4 separate regions of the Homo sapiens genome follow, and all the other regions are linked to region 4. Evidence: promoter capture Hi-C in 16 types of primary human blood cells and fetal thymus (Javierre and others, 2016). All regions are on one chromosome and are shown on one strand. The core of a region is centred on a gene start or on the middle of the fragment in contact, and the rest is flanking DNA. Distances in the headings are between cores, read along the strand shown. Region 1 holds the start of KCTD19 (potassium channel tetramerization domain containing 19). Region 2 holds the start of FHOD1 (formin homology 2 domain containing 1). Region 3 holds the start of HSD11B2 (hydroxysteroid 11-beta dehydrogenase 2). Region 4 holds the start of CES3 (carboxylesterase 3).

Region 1 (3,048 bases), core at 477-2,976, 370 kb after region 4:
AAGCATAAATATGCAAGGAAGGACCCTTGATTCTGCTTTCTGTTCTCCTTAAAGGTGGCTGAGAGCTCAATGGGGGTGCTCAGAGTGTGCAGATGTTGGATGCCAAAGAAAACCTACTTCTCGAAGGTGAGCCCCAGTTCTGGTCTCAGTTCCTCTTTTCTTTCTTTCTTTTTTTTCTTTTTTTCTTTTTTTCTTTTTTTTTTTTTTTGAGACGGAGTCTCGCTCTCTAGCCCAGGCTGGAGTGCAGTGGCACGATTTTGGCTCACTGCAAGCTCCACCTCCCGGGTTTACGCCATTCTCCTGCCTCAGCCTCCAGCCTCCTCAAGTAGCTGGGACTACAGGCGCCCGCCACCACGCCCGGCTTTATTTTATTTTATTTTATTTTATTTTGTTTTATTTTTGTATTTTTAGTAGAGATGGGGTTTCACTGTGTTAGCCAGGATGGTCTCGATCTCCTGACCTCGTGATCCACATGCTTCGGCCTCCCAAAGTGCTGGGATTACAGACGTGAGCCACCACGCCCAGCCCACCCTCTTTTCTTGTTAAGGATAGGGTGTGACAAGAGGGTCCTGGCTCCTTCTTACATACATGTCCCATCCACAGGTGGGCTCTTAAGTGCCTGCTGGAGTGAGGGTAGGGGTTAGGGATGCGGCTGTTCTTTCCCAAAGACTACTCAGGGGCTGGTTAGTGCAGAGCTATCGCAGCCTGGCGACAGCCCTCAGTCACAGGCAAGCTTAGGGGAACCTGTGGTGCTTGAAAGACAAAAGGCTTCTTGCCGGACTGACTTCAGGAAACGGGGTAGCCCTAAAGCAGTCATCCCCACCCCATTACAAAGAGCTTCTCTCTTTCCCACGCTGATCCTTCTCCCCCGAAGAAGCTCCGTCCAAGTAAATTTCTTACCTTTTTTTTTTTTTTTTTTTTGAGACAAGGTCTGGCTCTGTCACTCAGGTCGCCCAGGCTGGAGTGCAGTGGTGCAATCTCGGTTCACTGCAACCTCCACCTCCCGGGTTCAAGCGATTCTCCTGCCTCAGCCTCCCGAGTAGCTGGGACTACAGGCCGTGCCACCACACCCGGCTAATTTTTGTATTTTTAGTAGAGATGGGGTTTCACCATGTTGGCCAGGCTGGTCTTGAACTCTTGACCTCAGGTGATCCGCCCACCTCGGGCTCCCAAAGTGCTGGGATTACAGGCGTGAGACACCGCGCCCAGCCCGTCCAAGTCAATTTCTAGAGCTAGAACTTCCTCATGCTCTAAAGACAGGACCCCAACTCCTCAGAGCCAGGATTCCCAACCTTTCAGATCTGGAGCTCCCCATCATGCCTTAGAGTTCTGTCCCCACGCTCCAATCCTTCAGATTTGGATCTCCCCTTCACACACACCCTCGCCTTGCCCCAAAGTCAGCATCCCCCAGCGCTGAGATATGAAGACCACCCCGTCAAAGGGGCACACGCCCAGCCCTCAGAACCGGAGTCCCCCACATCCTCAGAGCCAGAACACTTCATCCCTCAAGACAGAGCGTTATTCTAACTCCTCAGAGCCAGCCCCCCAAATCCTTCCCGGCTGGGGGCCCCTCGCTCTCTCCCATGCCCCAGAGCCAGGTCTCGAACCACTTAGCCCCAATCCTTGGCCACAGCGGCCCCCATTCGCCGCTTTGGTGCTTTTGGCGCCCCCGCCAGAGCGGGCTCCGTACCATGGTCGCGGCTCCAGCAGCGGGCGGGCGGGCTTGTGACCCGGCCAATAACGGTTCCCGGGGTCGCGGCGGCGCGCGCGCGGGGGGCGGGGCAGTGGGCGGGGCCTGGCGTGCGCCGGGTGGTCTCGCGGGCGGTGGCAGGTGAGCGGCGGGCGGGGATGGCGGAGCAATGGGAGCTGGACGAGGAAGGCATTCGCCGCCTGGGGGCGCTGACGCTGGAGCAGCCGGGTAGGGTCTGGCCGGGAGGGTGTGGACTGGGAACGTAGGGTCAGAAGCTGTGGAAAGAAAACTGAAGTGGAAGGCGGGGAACCTGAGATAGAGGCGAGGGAACCACAGAGAAGCGGTACCTGAGGCTGGGGGGCGGGGGGATAACTTGAGGCAGAAGGTTAGAGGGAGGTGGAGGTGGAGGAACTGAAGTAACGGGAGGGTGTGGGGCAGAGCCCGAGGAATTGAGAGAGAAGAGGGGAGTGTGAAGTAGGGAAGGAGAAACAAGGTTAACAGGGGACCCTGCCGCAGGTGACAGAACTGCGGGGGGCGGTGGCTGACCGCTGTAATCCCAGCACTTTGGGAGGCGGAGGCGGGTGGATCACCTGAGCGTGGCCAACATGGTGAAACCCCGTCTCTACTAAAATACAAAAATTAGCCCGGCGTGGTGGTTCAAGTCTATAATCCCAGCTACTCGGGAGGCTGAGGCAGGAGAATCGCTTGAACCCGGGAGGCGGAGGTTGCAGTTAGCCGAGATCGCACCACTGCACTGCAGCCTGGGCGACAGAGCGAGACTCCATCTCAAAAATAATAATAATAAATAAAATAAATAAATAATAAAATGTCTATTAGACATCCAAGTGTAAGGTACCTAGTAGGCAGTTGGATATATGGGTCTGGACCTCAGAGGAGAGGTCAGGGTTAGAGATGAAAATTTTGGAGACATTAGCAATAGGTGGTATTTAAAGCTACGGGAGTGGATGAACTCAGCTAAGGAGAGAATGTCGATGGAGAAGTGAAAGAAAGCTTAAGACTCAACCTTGGAATATTTCAGTGTTTAGAGGTTGTATAGAGGAAGAATGTGGTATCTTGGAATTTGAGAAGGGGTAGTGTATCGAGCAAGCAATGGCCAACTGTGCCAAATGCTATTGACAGGCTGAGCAACTTAAATGCAGAGTGTCTGTTAGATTTAGCAACATGGAACTTACTGGTGACCTTGACAGAGGGAGTTTTGGGAGGGTGGGGAGGAGGGAAACCAGATTGGAGTGGGATGAAAAAGGGAAATGATATTTGAGGGGAAGAGACAGTGAAAGTAAGAACTTTTGCTGAAAATTTTAGCTGTAAAAGAGACTGCAGAAATAGATGGTAGCTGA
Region 2 (2,975 bases), core at 413-2,912, 290 kb after region 4:
ATATTCTCTAGTGCCCCACCCTTATTTCAGGATCCGGACTTTAGGAGCCTGGAAGCGGGAACCAGTCTTAGTTCAGCACTCCTGTCTTCCCAGCCCCCATCCTGAATGGGAGGTGGCCTCCAGCTGCACACGCTTCTTCCAGGCACACCTCAATTTGCCCCTCTGAATAGGGCAAGAGAAGCGGGGGCTGAGTCAAAACTGGCGGTGAGCAGTGTCCTGCATCCTTCCAGCCATGGCCTTGAAGCCGGGGTTCTGGCCTGGACACGTGCCACTCTCCAGGCCAATAGTCTCACCACCCCTCCCGCCAGCGCTCAGAGGCGGGGCTGGCCGCAGCGCGAGGAATGCGGGCTGGGGGCCCGGGGCACATTCCAGGGAAGACCCCAGGCCCAAGGGGCAAGTTTACGCAACTCGCCGCCCAGCTGAGGCTGGGAGCAGGGGAGGGCACCCACCCCGACTCTCTCTCCTCTTCTCCAGCACTGGAGGCGGCCGGGCTGGTGGGGAGCTTGTGGAGGTGGTAGTGCGCCTCCCAGAGTCCTGGCCCGGAAACAGCGCGCCGGAAAGGGCTGCCTGCGGGGGGCTGACGGCGGCGAGAGGGAGGGGAGAGGAGGTAGGCTGGCCATCTGGAAAAGGGCCTCTTTCCGCACTGTGCACAAGTCCGCTTCGGGGCGGCAGCAAAGTAGGGCAGGCCGGCTGTTTAAAATTAGTCCGGCCCTCCCTCTCACTTTCAGGCGCGGGCCGATGGGCGGCGAGTGTCCGGGGGTGGGGGCGGGAGCGGTGACTCAAAGGGCTTTTACACCCGTGCAGCCTCCTGCGCTCTGCGGATCCCGGGCCAGACCGCTTCGCGGGGACTCCCCTCACCCCGTGAAGTCTCTCCTCGGCCGGCACTCCCATACTCCCATTGACCTACAGGGTCAAGCCCCAATCCAGCTTCCTGACACCGCAGGAAACCTCTGCCACCTCTAGTAGTCCGCCTCGGGCCCGCCCCTCCTCGTGGTCCCGCCCCCACCTCACCTGAAGCAGGTGGAAGCTGGTCCCTCCCCAGCTCCGCCTCCAGGGTCCGCTACAGCCCAAGCGGCTACCGTCACTCTGACCAGGGAAGCCACCCTGGCAGACCGACGGCGAGTGGAACTCGAGCACCTCCCCAGGTGCGCCTAATTCGAAGGGCAGTCAGAATGGCGGAGCCAAGTTCCTGGCACCCCTCTTCAGTTTCCCCTCAACTTGAGAGGGGACTCCCCCGCAGGCGGGGCAGAGTGGACCCTGGGACCCCAGCCCAAGACTTTTCCGGAGAAGAACACTCGCTCCAGCCTCTTCCCGCGGAGCACCTCCCACCAGTTTTCATGGCGCCCACCCTGAACCCCCGATCGCCCCAACCTTTCTCCGGCCTCCCTCACCTTGAGCGGCGCTCCCAGCAGGCGGTGCACCGCGGGTATCTGCGCGCCCAAGGGCAGCGCCCCGTCCAGGCTGCAGGTGGGGGCCCGGCGCGGCTCCGGAAAGTTGGCACATGCGAAGGGGTCGGTGTCTTCCAGGTACTGCACCCTCACGGTCACCACTGATACCGGCTCTCCGTCCCCGCGGTCTTCCCCGCCCGCCATGGCTCTGCGGCCGGCTCACGCAGCGCGCCTCCGAGTCCCGGCCCCAGTGCAGCTTCTACTCAAAGCACACTGTAGCTCCGCGGTTCGGGCCCGGCCGGACCGGACGCGGCTGGAGGGGCGGGGCCAGACGGAGGCGGGGCCGAGGAAGGGGGTGGAGCCAAGATTAGTCCCCGAGTGCGCGCCAGGAGGTAACCACTGCCGGAGGCGGGGCCGCCGCTAGCCACTCACAGGGCCCAATGGGAATCCCGTTAGTTCACTGGCTAGGAGGGCGGGAAAAACCGAGCTCGCGCCCCACCTTCGAGAACGCGCAGAAGGCGGGGAGGCTTTCTTTGGTCTGGGGATAGTGAGGCTGCGTTCTCTTTGAGGGGTGTTAGGGCAGATGGGGCAGAAGTTTCTTTAGATAGTGGCCGGCCAGGTCTCTCTCAGTTGAGGGACAAGATAGCCCTCATTCCTTCCATTTGAGGGGTGAGTCCCTGTGGTTTCCTCATTTAGGGAAAGCAGTGAGAGGGGGTCCCTTCAATTTGGAGCAAGAAGTGAGAATAAATTCCACCCAGTTTGAAGGAAGAGGTGGGATCAGTTCCCTTTAGTTGTGGGAGGAAGAGGGAAGGATGCCCTTCAGTTTTCTGGGAAAAGATTGGGAGGAGTCAGTTTGAGGGGGCAGATAGAACACGTTCCCCTCAGTTTTGGAGAAAAAGTGGGATGGGTGCCCCTCAGCCTGAATGAAAAGTGGAGACGGTCCTCCTCTGTTTGGGGCGCTATGAGCCGAATGCCCCTCAGATTTGGAAAAAGTTGGGTGCATCTCGCCTAGTTTGAAGGGAATCAGTAGGCTGGGTTTTCCATAGGTTCCTGTCAGCTTCATCAAAGAGATGAGACAGTTCTCTGTAGTGTGACTGAAAGGGAGGGCCAGGTGCCCCTTGGTTTGGGAGATGAAGAACAGCCTCCCTCTTCGCCTGGCACGAGCTGGGCCAGTCTGGGCCTTAGGGTTTCTGGGACGTTGGGGGCAGCGTTGTCCGTCACTGCTTTGGGGAGCGTCCAGTGCGCGTGCGCAGCTCAGGTCCGGGTGGGGGCCGGCAGGGGGTCCTGGGCTTGGCAACGTGGGCGGAGGGCGGCCAAGCACGGTCCCCTGCGTTTTGCACCCGGCCGCGCCTTGGTCCCAGGGGGGTGCTGCTCGCCGCACAGCAGCGCTGGCCGAGGAGGAGCCGTGCCCCTCCCGTCCTGACCGCGCCCCCCGCAGACCCCCGCCCTTCCCGCTGCGGGCTGCCCCAGGGGGGCCGTGGCCGCGCACCGCTCTGGATCTGGTGGGGGCGGTTTTGGGGAGGTTTGGGGGCGCGGACTCGAAGGAGTAGGTTGTGGAACTTGGGGGAGAGCTGCACTGGGGAATTT
Region 3 (2,868 bases), core at 84-2,583, 470 kb after region 4:
CCCAGCCTCCCCTGAGATTTCCCTGGCTCACCAGGGGGCTGTGTCTGGTGGCAGAGAGGGCTTTGGAGGAGGCATTGCCCTGAAACCCTGGCAGAGCCTGGGCACCTAAGAGAGAATGAGCAACAGGGCTAGGAAGTGTGACAGGGAGTCCACAACCTCCCAGGATCTTGGGAGGGCAGGGATGAGGCACTGAGCACGGCCTGGAAGCCCACGGGAAGCAGGGACCCCTCTGTCGAGGGCTACACCTACTGCTCTCAGCATCAAGCCTGCAGCCAGGTACTGGCACCAACTCCCAGTGCCTGGCAGAGCCCTGGCATGGATGCTAGGCACAGGGTGCCAGACACGGGGGTGGGCAGGGTGGGGGGCCACTGGGCCACACACAAGCATGGAGACCTTCACACACGCAGGCAGAAAAATCCACCCACACTCATACCACTTATTTTACCCCCTGGGGGTTCAGGGGAGCAAGGCAGGGACCACCCTGTCCTAGAGGCTGCCTTCACCGACGTCCCTCTGGCCTGGCTCTTGGGGTTGGCGGGGGTGGGCCATAAGTAATGGGAGACCTAGGTGCTTCCTCTGACACCCCACCCTCCACTGACCCCCACACACATACATTTGTGAGGCAGGAAGTGGGGTTGTGCGTCCCCAGGTTTAAGCCCTGGAAGGAAAGGGAAAGACGGGGCAGAGACTCCAAGAACCGGGAGCGGTCGTCCTGTTCCCCCGCCAGCCCCTGTCCCAGGCAGGTTTTGTGGCCGCGAGCTGCTCAGGGGTGAGCGCGCCTTAGGGTGTGTGCGCCAGGGACCTGGCGCAGCCGACCACGTGGGAGTGCGGCGCGTGTACGGGCGCGGGCGGCAGCGGCAGCGGCAGCGGAGACCGGGTGAGCACCGGCTGGTTCCTCGCGGTGTTCCTGCAGGCTTGGCGGCCGCGGTGGTGCGATCAGCAAAGGGCACCGGGATGCCGGTTGTGCGTGTCCTCAGGTGTCCCGAACAAGCGTGAGTGGCATGTGCTCACCTGAGCGCGGCGGCTTGGCGGCCCCGGGCGTGTGGGTGGGGGCGCGGCGGAGAGCTGAGGCCGGGCACCCGGGCTGGACCGACGGGCCCTCTCCCAAGCACCGCCCGCAGCCAGGCGGCTCCTCGAGCGCAGCAACTTTGGGACTTTGTTCCGGCTTTTTCCAAATCGAATCTGGTCGAGGGGGCGGGGCGGGGGGGGAGCACCTGCCCTGCGGGGGGTGCCGGGAGAGAAGTGAAGGAAAGCCCCGCCCCCGCCCCTCCCGCTCCCCGCCCTCTCCCCCGCCCCCGGGGCTCTTCATAAGCTCGGCCCGAGGGCGAGCAGAGAAAGCGAGTGTCCCTCTCGCGCCCCAGGCCGGTGTACCCCCGCACTCCGCGCCCCGGCCTAGAAGCTCTCTCTCCCCGCTCCCCGGCCCGGCCCCCGCCCCGCCCCGCCCCAGCCCGCTGGGCCGCCATGGAGCGCTGGCCTTGGCCGTCGGGCGGCGCCTGGCTGCTCGTGGCTGCCCGCGCGCTGCTGCAGCTGCTGCGCTCAGACCTGCGTCTGGGCCGCCCGCTGCTGGCGGCGCTGGCGCTGCTGGCCGCGCTCGACTGGCTGTGCCAGCGCCTGCTGCCCCCGCCGGCCGCACTCGCCGTGCTGGCCGCCGCCGGCTGGATCGCGTTGTCCCGCCTGGCGCGCCCGCAGCGCCTGCCGGTGGCCACTCGCGCGGTGCTCATCACCGGTGAGTGCGCGGGTCGCGGAGCGCGGGGACTCCAGGCTCGAGGGCGGGACTGGACACTCAACAGGACTGACTCCCCATGGGCACAGCCAAGGCGGGCTCCTCAGCGCAAGAGTGGGAGAGTTCTCCACCCCTGGGTGCAGGGAGCGAGCCAAATAGGGAGCGCCGGGCACCTCCCCAAGCCCGGGTTCACTACCTGCCGCTGCGGGGAGTGTTGGAGGGAAAGTGAGACAGGGAGTGGGCCGGTTCGAGAAGGAAACTGACTGGTGGCTGAGAAGAGGGAACCTCCTGGAGTTTGAGAGTTTATGCCATTCCCTTCCCCAAGAGAGCAGTCTCAGGGGACTTCGGAGGCCTTGAGAAGGGAGGATCGTTACCCCTTGAACTCTGCCTGACATCCCCACCTAAGATACCCATCTCCCATTCCTCGGGCCAGAGGGAAGAGCTTAGATGGGGAACTTCCCCACCCCACCCATCCCCCACTGGCTGGGATCCTTGGAGTTCAGAAAAGCTAGAGGTCACCGTGAGGGGCAGCTGGACATTCAGCTGTCTTTCTGTCTAGCCACCCACTGCCAAACTGCTGAGGCAGTAGTTTGGAGCCTACACCCAGCACCCCACCCCCAAGCCCTCCTGGTCCTCTGTGCCCAGGAAGGAGCTCTTAGAGAGCTGGGCTCAGGTGCCTCTGGCCGCCTAGCTGAGCTCCTTTGTCTGGAGCAGGGAATAAATCTGTCACCAGAGGGAGGGAAGGGGAAGGGGGGGGGGGGCTGGAGGCCCGCCGGAAGTGGGGAGGGGGAGAAAGGCCAGGGGGCACTGACTCCATTGCATCGTGGGAGGAGCAGCCTGGTCTCTCGCCAATACCCACGGCTTTGGACAGGTGCTCCAGGCTTTGTCCTTGCGCTGGGCCTTTGCTGGGGCAGCCAGCAACCTGGCTTCTCAGAGACCTCGGTCTAGTAGGGGCCCTGTGTGATCAGATGGGGCTGGGAGAATTTTCCGGAGGAGGAAATCCTTGAGTGGGGCCTTGGAGCATGAGTGGAGATAAGTGGAGTATGAAAGGGATCTCGGATCAGAGAAAGGATGTGGGACAAAGGCTTAAGGCAGGAGTACACACGGTCTCTGTAGGGGACAGCCAGTCTGGGTGTGGGGGTGGG
Region 4 (3,196 bases), core at 670-3,169:
AGTGTAAAATTTAGAAGGCATTCATTCTCAGGTGCCGACCCTCTACTGGTATGACCCCGGGGGTGAGTGACTCTTTAACTTTTATGCCCTGGGCGCCTTGCTGGCCTGTCTCACCCTAGTCCTGGCCCTGGTAGGCCCATCCACAATGCTAGGAGGGAAGGCAGACCTAGCTGCAGGGAGTTGGGAAACGTGGCCTTGGGAGCAGATGGAGAGCTCTCCTGGCAGCATCTATACCCGAAGATGGAAGGTAAGATTGTGGGCGGAGAAGAGATCCAGGTGCCTTGATGTGAGTGTTGAAGGTGGAAAGCATGCCAGAGCCAGGTGCTAAAATCTTCAGCAAATGATCAAGGGGGTGTGGCTGGGGGGTGGCAGGGCTGTGATGGCAACAAGAAGAGGAAGGTGGAATAGGGAAGGACAAAGTCTGGAGGCAGCTCTGAAAAGGAGACCCCACCCCAGGCTGCCGGGGAAGATTCAGGAAGCTGCAATGGTTTTTTATGAATTTTTTTTTAGAGAGAGAGTCTTGCTATGTTGCCCAAGCTGGCCTCAAGCTCCTGGGCTGAAGCAATCCTCCTGCCTCAGCCGCCTGAGTAGCTGGGACTACAGACTTGTGCCACAATGCCCAGCTGGCACTAGTTATTTTTGGCAGAAGGGAAGTTTCATCCTAAAGCCTGTCTCTTCAGCTCTGGGTGCCAGCTGGAGCCCCGGAAGAGGATCTGGCATCGTGTTTAGGCACAACCCTCACTCTGTCTTTCACTGGGCCAGCAAATATCTATCCATCCTCCCACCGCCTACTCCCAGCCAGCCATGTTCCTGACACTGAGGCCCAGAAGTGAGTCCTGCCCTCCCTGGGGGTGGGAGCCTCCTAAGCCAGCAGAGAGACAGATGCCCTGCAGATCCCCGCCCCGGTCAAGAGCAGGCTTCCATCAGTTCTGGTTCCCAGACTCTCCTCTCCTCAGGCTTCCATGAGTTCTGGTTCCAAGCCCCTCCCCTCCTCTCCCCTCCCCTCCCTCCCTCCCTCCCTCTCTCTCTTTCTTTCTCTCTCTATTTTTCTTTTTTCTCTTTTTGTTTCTTTCTCTTTTTCTGTCTCTTTTTCTTTCTCTCTCTCCTTTCTCTCTCTCCTTCTTTCTCTCTCTCCTTTCTTTCTTCTCTCTCTCTCTTTCTCTCTTTCTTTGTCTTGCTCTATAGCCTAGCCTAGAGTGCAGTGGCATTATCACAGCTCACTGCAGTCTCGACAACCTGGGCTCAAGTGATCCTCTCACCTCAGCCTCCCAAGTAGCTGGGACCACAGGCATGCACCATCACACCTGGCTAATTTTTTTTATTTTTTCTAGAGACGTGTCTCCCTGTGTTGCCCAGGCTGGTCTCAAACTCCTGGGCTCAAGCGATCTTCCTGCCCCATCCTCCTAAAGCACTGGGATTACAGGTATGAGCCACCACACCCAGTCCCAAGCCTCATGTTTTCACACACACACTCACACACACATGCAAACATGTACCCTCACTTCAATGCTATGAGGTGGGTCCTATTATCATCACTGTTTTATTTTCTTTCACATTTTAACATGAGATTTGGAGGGGACAAAACATCCAAACCATATCAAGCCCTCACCTCAGGCTGGGTTGCCCACTCGGAGTGGCACCCCAGGGTCACTGGCCACCACTTCCTAGGGTCAGTGATGTGGTCACCTTGGGATGAACGCACAGGATTTCATGGAGATCACCAAGTCAGGAGAGCTGGAATTTGAAAACAGTGGGACGGGGAGGGCTGTCATATCAACCAGGCCTCTGCAGGGCACTCATCTAGCCCTGCCTCTGGCTCAGCCTGAGCATGGGGCTGGCCACCAGCTAGGTGGCGCTGTCCTTGGAGGTTCTATATCACAGCCCTTTAGAGATCGGTGGTGCTGAAGGGCAGGGATCTTATTCCACCTTCTGAAGCTTCTGTCGAACCAGTTGTAAGGAGAATGGAGAGAGCAGTGAGAGTGGAGTCCGGGGTCCTGGTCGGGGTGGTCTGTCTGCTCCTGGCATGCCCTGCCACAGCCACTGGTAAGACACACCTGCTGGGCCTGCAGAGGTACTTGGTGTGGAGGAGTCAAGAGTGAGACAGGGACAGGGAGCAGTGGGCCGACCGCTCAGGAAACAGTCCTGTTTGGAGGCAGACCAGGGGTTGTGCATTCTCTCTGGGCAGGCGCTCTGCTCTTGCTGTATTTGTTTCGTTGTTTTTGTTGTTGTTGTTTGAGACAGAGTTTTGCTCTTGTTACCCAGGCTGGAGTGCAATGGCGCGATCTCGGCTCACTGCAACCTCCGCCTCCTGGATTCAAGCGATTCTCCTGCCTCAGCCTCCTGAGTAGCTGGGATTACAGGCACCTGCCACCATGGCCGGCTAATTTTTGTATTTTTAGGAGAGATGGGGTTTCACCATGTGGGCCAGGCTGGTCTCAAACTCCTGACCTCAGGTGACCCACCTGCCTCGGCCTCCCAAAGTGCTGGGATTACAGGCGTGAGCCACCGCACCTGGCCTGTCTTTATGTCTTAAGGGGGCCTGAGATTTGTTTTAATGAAGTATAGTAAGACAAGCAGATATGCAAATGACTATCATGAGGGAAGGAGTTTGCTCGTAGTTCCCTGTGAACAGGAAGCAGGCCATGCCACATAGGGCCACAGAGGGAAGCACCAGGTGGCATCAGCCAGGAGGCAGAGGGAGCAGGGGGAAAATGTGGGCAAGCCCCTTTGACACGGTTGCCACGGGAAGGAATAGGCAAGGCAGGCTAAAGAGGTTTACGATTGGCAGCAGGCTCTGGGGAAAGGGGCTGTCCCCAGCCAGCTTCCTGGTACCCGGCTCTGTGGTGATTATGGCTGGTGGATGGCAGCCAGGAGCTGAGAGCTGTATAAAGGAGGTGGTTGGGTATGGCTCTGGACTGGTTTGCCTTTGCTCCCTAGAGAGATGCCTGCCAATTCCACCTCCCCAGAGAGCTGCCTCCTATCTCTAGGAATTGTCTAGCCTGGGAGAGGCAGTCCTCCAGTCTTAGTCTGTTTGTGTTGTTGTAAAAGAATACAGGAAGCTGGGTAATTCACAAAGAAAAGAAGTTTAGTTAGGCCACAGTTCTGCAGGCCGTACAAGAAACATGGTGCCAGCTGGGCATGATGGCTCACACCTGTCGTCCCAGCACTTGGGGAGGCTGAGGTGAAAGGATTGCTT

The links. Contacts are between HindIII fragments. The CHiCAGO score rates a contact against its expected background, and 5 or more counts as called.
Region 1: the fragment with the promoter of KCTD19 here is called in contact with the fragment with the promoter of CES3 in region 4 in 4 of 17 cell types (activated CD4 T cells, naive B cells, M1 macrophages and 1 more); the score reaches 6.6 in activated CD4 T cells.
Region 2: the fragment with the promoter of FHOD1 here is called in contact with the fragment with the promoter of CES3 in region 4 in 2 of 17 cell types (activated CD4 T cells and total CD4 T cells); the score reaches 5.2 in activated CD4 T cells.
Region 3: a contact is called between the fragment with the promoter of HSD11B2 here and the fragment with the promoter of CES3 in region 4, in 5 of 17 cell types (naive CD4 T cells, total CD8 T cells, erythroblasts and 2 more). The highest score is 6.6, in naive CD4 T cells.

Annotation. Positions count from the first base shown.
Region 1 is chr16:67,325,015-67,328,062 of GRCh38, forward strand. It overlaps KCTD19 (potassium channel tetramerization domain containing 19), which reads right to left and starts at 1,727. Exons shown (of 16, transcript NM_001100915.3): 1 at 1,691-1,727. The coding sequence starts at 1,693. LRRC36 (leucine rich repeat containing 36) reads left to right here and starts at 1,801. Exons shown (of 14, transcript NM_018296.6): 1 at 1,801-1,918. The coding sequence starts at 1,849. RefSeq lists a silencer at 1,694-1,843. The HindIII fragment of the contact is 1,968 bases long and covers 732-2,699 here.
Region 2 is chr16:67,245,819-67,248,793 of GRCh38, forward strand. It overlaps FHOD1 (formin homology 2 domain containing 1), which reads right to left and starts at 1,663. Exons shown (of 22, transcript NM_013241.3): 1 at 1,392-1,663. The coding sequence starts at 1,592. RefSeq lists enhancers at 1-497, 2,898-2,975 and silencers at 601-700, 1,601-1,970, 2,613-2,702, 2,723-2,812. The HindIII fragment of the contact is 13,502 bases long and covers 1-2,975 here.
Region 3 is chr16:67,429,788-67,432,655 of GRCh38, forward strand. It overlaps HSD11B2 (hydroxysteroid 11-beta dehydrogenase 2), which reads left to right and starts at 1,334. Exons shown (of 5, transcript NM_000196.4): 1 at 1,334-1,726. The coding sequence starts at 1,462. RefSeq lists silencers at 1,003-1,052, 1,273-1,452. The HindIII fragment of the contact is 16,145 bases long and covers 1-2,868 here.
Region 4 is chr16:66,959,347-66,962,542 of GRCh38, forward strand. CES3 (carboxylesterase 3) reads left to right here and starts at 1,920. Exons shown (of 13, transcript NM_024922.6): 1 at 1,920-2,043. The coding sequence starts at 1,962. RefSeq lists enhancers at 1,562-1,811, 1,616-2,117, 1,902-2,111. The HindIII fragment of the contact is 21,813 bases long and covers 1-1,933 here.